Linked DNA regions of Homo sapiens: region 1 is linked to region 2. The links are contacts of gene promoters, found by promoter capture Hi-C in blood cells and fetal thymus (Javierre and others, 2016). All regions are on one chromosome and are shown on one strand. The core of a region is centred on a gene start or on the middle of the fragment in contact, and the rest is flanking DNA. Distances in the headings are between cores, read along the strand shown. Region 1 has its middle 19 kb from the start of RPL22L1. Region 2 holds the start of SAMD7 (sterile alpha motif domain containing 7).

Region 1 (3,712 bases), core at 80-2,579, 940 kb before region 2:
ACTTCCTGAAGAAGTTTCAGTACTCCAAAGGATAAAAAGAAAATCCCAAAAGCTTCCAGAGGGAAGAGAAAACAAAACAAAACAGTTTACCTACAAAAAAATAATCTTGAATTGGACCTACTAAGGGAGTGCACTAAGCTTACCAGCAGGAATGTCTGGGTCTCATCAGCTATAAGAATCCTTTCCTGTCCTTAGGCTTCCTGTTTTCTATAAATTAAGAGATTAAACCAGCAGATTTCTGTTTCTCTCTCTCTCTCTCTCTGTCTCTCTCTCTCTCTCTCGCTCTGTGTGTGTGTGTGTGTGTGTGTGTGTGTGTGTGTGTGTGTGTGTGTGTTTCCAGGTCTGACTTGCTGTGAATGCTTGTTGATGTACTCCAAGGCTGACCTCTCTTTTGGAGCTTTCCTCATGAAACCCAACAGGCCACTCCATAAATCCACAACACATACAGTGGATTTTTTTTTTAAACTGCCATATGCTTTAAATAAGCATGTGAGTTTATTGCCTGAACACATGCTGATTTATCAACTCAATCTTATTTCTTAAGGACAGGAATAGTGGTTTCGAGTACAGTACACTATAAATAGAAAACACAACACGTGACTGCTGGATTAATCAATCAGCGAACTTTTATGAGCATCTGCAGTATGTCTCTTTCTGTCTCTCTTTTTTTTTTTTTGAAACAGGGTCTCGCTGTCTCACTCAGGCTAGAGTGCAGATCACAGTTCACTGCAGCCTTCACTTCCTGGACTCAAGGATCTTCCCACCCCAGCCTCCCAAGTAGCTGGGACTACAAGTATGTGCCATGAAACCCAGCTAATTTTTATTCTCTCTCTCTCTCTTTTTTTTTTTTTTTTGTAGAGATGAGGTCTCGCTATATCCCCCAGGTTGGTCTTGAACTTGTGGGCTCAAGGATCCTCCTGCCTCAGCCTCCCAAAGTGCTGGGATTACAGGAGTGAGCCATTGTGCCCAGCCAATATGTCTCATACCATGAAAAGTCATAGGATTTTGAGAAGACCATACAGATCTTTTGCTCCAGTGTTTATCAAAGTGCATAAAACAGGACTGTAGTTCCATGTGAACATAGTAAGTAGTACAGTAACAACAAAATAACACATGGGAAATGGACAGTTAAGCAAACTAAACATTTATTTGCTTTGGGAATTTTTCAGGTCTTTGTGACTCTCCATGCATCGGTTCCCCCAAATATGTAGCTTTGCTCAAATGTAGTGGATCATAGAGTACTTTTATTTACCAACTCAAGAAAGCATATGAGTTTCTAGATCTAACTGATGGTTTACAAAAGATGCAGTGGGTAAAGAACATATTAAATGATACCAGGAGGATTTAATCAGCCATTCCAGAATGTAAGAGATTCTACAAGATAAATGACCAGTTTCTCCAATGACAAAGAAATAGCATTAACAGAAGAGGGTGGGCCAGTTATAGAACAAAAGAGATTTAAGAGAAAAATCACCATATGTAATATGGGGACTTTTTGGAAAATGATCCAAACAAACCAAATGCAAATAGATATTTTTGAGATAAGCAAAGATAATTGAACATGAACTGGGTATTAAAAAATATAAGCATTACATATTCTAAAACCTAACTATTGTTCATTTTACTCAGTGTGATTATGATATTACTGTTATTTTTTAGTTTGTTTTGATATACATACTGAAGTAGTAAAGGTAAATTAATACCAGAATTTTCCTGTAAACATATACTGGTAATGCTTTTCTCCTTGATATGAGTGTTTTGTAGGTGGGTATGTTAACTTTATTAAAAAGATGTTCTTAACACTTATGATTTGTTCACTTTCTATGTGTAAGTCCTATTTCAAAAATTTTATATATAATTTAAATATTATATATGCATATATAATGCATATAGGTGGTTTAAAAATCAGTTTCTATTGTAAAAGAGTACACAGTGAAAAGTATTCCTTCCTTTCCCTGAAGCCTACTGACCCGTTTCTTCTCTCAAAGACAATGACTATTACCAGCATTCATCTGAAGGTATTTTTATTTTATGTGTGTACAAGTATGTCTATGCAGATATGTCTTGGATATAATCCATGTAAGTATATATAGATTTTTCCATTTTTAGTAGTAACATGTTATTTTATTGTGTGTTTTACTGTGTGTTATTTGCCTGGTCACTTAGTGCTGGAAATTTAGGCAGTTTACAGTTTTTGTACAGTTTTTGTACAGTCTTTATGCTCATGGGTTTTTAAATGTTAATAGATGTTGCCAAATTGTCCTCCAAGATGTCTGTACTAGTTTACCTCCATTTCCACCCAGTAATATATATATCACGGTGCTCAAGTTCACAGTATACTGAGTCATATATAGTAATGCCCTCAAGAGGGAGGTATCTTTAAAATAAATTCAGGATAAATTGACCTTTGATTATAACTGTTCTTACTCAAATACCTTAAACAAGGAAGACACAGCTTATTTGTGTATAAAATTAGTATAGCAGAATGTCTACTTAAGTACTTCTAGAATTAAAGCTTTTCTCTTCTAAATGGTGTGAAAAATGGCTATAGTAATCAAGATTGTGTGGTGCTGACAGAGAGACTATAAAGGGTTGGTTCAGTACTATGCACAAGATGTAGCACCAGGTGCTTTAAATATATTATCTTATTTTCTACTGATACATTTTATAAATGAAGTAATTGAGACTCAGAATGACTAAATAGCAAAGCTGGAATTGGAACCACTTGCAATTGGTCTGATTCCACAGCCTGTTTTTTCCACTTCTTCAAAGCAGAAAGGTATGAGCAGGAGGAAATAGAGCTATAGTACATGGCATGAGTGGAAGGGTATGGGGAACATTGGAGGAAAAGTTTGAAAAATTAGAGTGGAGTGAGAGTAAGGAAGAAATTGAAACAGAGATGTGTATGTTGGGGAATGAAATGATGAAGGCTGAAAGTAACATGTAAAATATATTAGTTGAAAGAGACTGATGTCTGGTGTGGGGGAAACCCTAGGAAATCATCAAAGAAAATTAGCAAAGAGACTTGAATGGTTACCCAGGCAGGAGGAATTGAGGGTTTAGTCTTGAGATGAAGGAGTGGATGGATGCAAGAGAACCTGACTTCATTTGCTTAATTTTGCATATACGTATAGAGTGCTTGCCATGAGCCAACATGATGCTCAGGGCTAGGACTGCAGCAGTGAACAAGATAGACCCATGCTCTGCTGTCATTGAGCTTACAAAAAGTACTAACAGGATTTGATGATGAAATGGAGAGAGGGGTGAAAGAAAAATGGAGATAAAATAGACTATAATTTGAACCTGGAGGTCAGATTCTCAGAAGTGAGGACAATTCATATCTCTGATTTGATGTCATTGAGTTTGAGTTTTGAAATAGACATTTTCCTGCTGTATCTTCATAGAAGAAAGTTTTACATAAAAGAAAGGATGGGCAAGAACACTATGATGATTGTGTTTTCTTATCTATTTCTAAGAATTGTGATTTCTTACATGTCAGAGACTCTAACATTCTAGTTATAGAATCACTTCTCTTCAGTGGGGCTTGGTTTCCTCTATCGTAAAATATGTTGGCTGTCTTAAAATTCACCAGGGCCTAAACCTGGCTGCACGTTAAAGTCAGCTGGGGGATTAGAATCACCTGCACATTAGAATCTCCTGGGAGAGCTTTTACGTAATACCCAAGCCCAGGACTTACCCAGACCAGTTAAAA
Region 2 (3,345 bases), core at 232-2,731:
CCTGGCTTCTTGCGAGTTTTCTTGGCCTTCTCTTAGGCAGTACCCCAACAACTCCAAAGTAATTCCTCCTACTTATGTTTTGCAGAGGCCTTTGTAGTCCATCTCCTCCAACTCTCTCTGAGCACAACCCAAATAGGCCTTCTCCTGGGTCCCTCCATATCTTGCTCCCCTTCCCATCTCTGCCAAGGACGGAGGAGAACTTTAGAAAGACAGTTCATACCGAAGCACTTGGCAGTGCTGCTAAAATGTATTTCACTTTTCCTAAAGGCATAAGCTTTAGGACTTTTCTAACTGCATTTCACCATAGCACATACCCTGGAAAGCATTGAAGACAGTGGGTTACGTGCTGGCTGCTGTCACTTCTTATTTCTTTTTACTCTGGAAGCTCATTTTCATTAGACCTATCCATGTCTTCTTGAAATGTCAGGTTCTAGGCACAATTACAAGTATTGTAAAGAAAAAGGTAAACCTTTGACATCATTAAAGAAGTCAAAATTATGTAATTTCTACTGGACTCAATATAATTTATGTGCAACTACAGTTTGTATAAATTATGTTCACTTTCTTCAAAAGATTGTGAAGCAAAGTCCATTATATATAAATCTGTAGAGACTAAAGTGAAATTCTAGCAGTACTCATATAATGGAACTGAATAGTAGGTGTTTTAGTTAGATAGTCTTAAAGAATGAATTAAGGAATATCAATATAGATTTTATTTCATGATTATCATTGATTGTTCCTCAATGTTTTTCTGAAATTTTCTACTCTGACATTTCATGGTTCATACATCATGACAATTTTTGGAATATAGATATCTATAGTAATGGGGGGCCATTAAAATAATAATATATAGTAAATAAACAGCAGTAATACATAGAGGTAGGTACTTCATCTGTTTGAAGATAATAAAACTACAGTAAATTTACATACAACTTTGAACTGACTTTATCTTAAATAAACTTCATTTTACTTTCACTTAAAAAACTCCAAAAACTAAGACCAGGCAGTGTTTATTTGGTAGGAGTGGTATATCATCTTTACTCGTTAGTAACTTCAGTCAAGTAGGAATTTATTAGCTCACATACTGTTAGTAATAGCCAGTAAAGTCTACACATAAACCTAAGCATTTCCTTTAAGATAAAGATGTCCTTTTATTTTATATGTGAAACATTTTACTCAGAGTAACTGGCCTCAATTTTGGGCTAATCAATGTGTAGAGTTACATACTTACATCCTCTATGAAGACTTCTTGTCTTTGATATTGCAGATGGAAGAACCATACAAAGACTTTCTGGCCTTCAACTGCAGAAGCTTCTCTGGCTGCGGGTTGAAAGGTACATCTGACAATTCTTTCAAAAATGGTCTTAATTCAGTTTAACCTTGCTTTAAATACAAATTCAACTAAGTTGATTAGTCCTATTTCATGACAGAAACTTTGCCCTCTGATATCCTCTACAGATAGGCTAAAAGATGTTAAGCCCAAGGAAAGTGCCCTGCAAGGTGCATAAACCTGTCTCAGAGCTTAGCCTTTAGTGTAATCCTTCCTTAGCCTTTAAGATGCTTTGTGGGCATTCACTTAATACCACTGTTCAACTTGACACAAAAGAAATATACTATGCAAATAAGTAATAAGCTTTTCTTTGATGGAACTATATAGCCTATTCCATATTTCCAACAGGTTTCAAGTGGAAACATTTCTTTTGCGAGTAGGAAAAAACCTAAGTTATTTTCCACAGAGCTGAAACATTTGATGAAAGATGGCAGTCTATTTTAAAAAGAAGCTTCTATAATGGACAACTGTACTTTAATTCTCACAGGCAGTGAGAAAACCCTTTATCATCTGTGTGAGAGCTGTGATCTATATAAGAGGGAAAACACGGAATTTTGAAAATGTGACCTGTTATATTTGCTAGAGAAACATTTATAGCTTGAAAAAGAACATCCATATTTTTTGATTCCTAGTAATTTACTAGTAGGAAGTACAAAATAAGAATTGAATATAAGAAATTTAAGTTGTGTTTCAAGTAATGCTTTAGGCTTCCAGTTTGAAGGTAACCTGCTCCTTTGTTGACACACATTTTTATCATTGGCTGTTGAACTCATTATAAGAAATAGCATGTGGAACTGACTGTATTTATTCCAGGGTTATTGTTCATAAAGCAGTGGTCAACAGCAGGGACTTAGATGACCAACAGACTCAATAAGCCTCAGCACCACCACTCATTAGCTGTATGGCCTGGCCAAGTTACTGAACTTCTCTGAGCCTTAGTTTCCTCATCTCAGAAGAGCCCTTCTTGGGAAAGGGAAGGCAACAAGGTAGACAAAATGCTTGAATAGTTCTCACTAAACATTAGCCATTATGTTAGGTAACTATATTGCACAGAGTCCTCTGTTGAGGATCCATGGGAGGAATTTTTCTCAGCTTGTAGTACTAGGGACAATTGTTTTGTTGTTGTTATTGTTGTTGTTGTTGTTCTGAAAAATAAGGCCAAAATAAAACCTCAGGAATCACGTAACTAGTGTGTTGCATTCTTTGTGTTGGTTAGTAGGAAGTTCAGGACCTGCCTTTAGGCATGCATTTTATTATATTTTTATTTATTTATTTTTGAGACAAGTTCTTGCTCTGCCACCCAGGCTAGAGTGCAGTGGCACAATCATGGCTCACTGTAGCCTCTATGTCCCCAGACTCAAGCAATCCTCCCACCGTAGCCTCCAAGTAGCTGGGACCACTGGTGCACGACCGCATGCCTGGCTAATTTTTTTTCTGTATTTTTTTGTAGAGACAGGCTTTCGCCATGTTGCCTAGGCTGGTCTTGAACTCCTGGACTCTAGCAATCCACCCACCTCGGCCTCCCAATGTACTGGGATTATAGGCGTGAGCCACCATGCCCAGCCTAGACATGCATTTTAAAACCAGAAATGATCTATGGCTTCATCTTATTTTTCCTAACATTATTTTCCCTTTGCCCTAATTTTTACTAAACTGTCTTTCTTGTGTTGTATATGCATTTTGAAGTGTCTCATAAATTATTAGCATTTATAATATTTATGCATACAGTTTTTGTTTTTTTTTGTTGTTGTTGTTTGTTTGTTTTTTTGAGACAGAGTCTCACTCTGTCACCCAGGCTGGAGTGCTGTGGCGTGATCTCAGCTCACTGCAAGCTCCACCTCCCGGGTTCACGCCATTCTCCTGCCTCAGCCTCCTGAGTAGCTGGGACTACAGGCGCCCGCCACCATGCCCAGCTAATTTTTTTTTTTTTGTATTTTTAGTAGAGACGGGGTTTCACCGTGTTAGCCAGAATGGTCTCGATCTCCTAACCTTGTGATCTGCCCACCTCAGCCTCC

The links. The method cuts DNA at HindIII sites, captures the fragments that hold promoters and counts their contacts. A CHiCAGO score of 5 or more calls a contact.
Region 1: a fragment that was not itself captured here is called in contact with the fragment with the promoter of SAMD7 in region 2 in 1 of 17 cell types (total B cells); the score reaches 5.5 in total B cells.

The regions. Positions count from the first base shown.
Region 1 is chr3:170,849,323-170,853,034 of GRCh38, reverse strand. No RefSeq gene overlaps it. Among named protein-coding and RNA genes, the nearest start is that of RPL22L1, 19 kb to the left of the region's middle. The HindIII fragment of the contact is 2,377 bases long and covers 141-2,517 here.
Region 2 is chr3:169,909,708-169,913,052 of GRCh38, reverse strand. SAMD7 (sterile alpha motif domain containing 7) reads right to left here and starts at 1,481. Exons shown (of 9, transcript NM_001304366.2): 1 at 1,232-1,481. The HindIII fragment of the contact is 322 bases long and covers 1,314-1,635 here.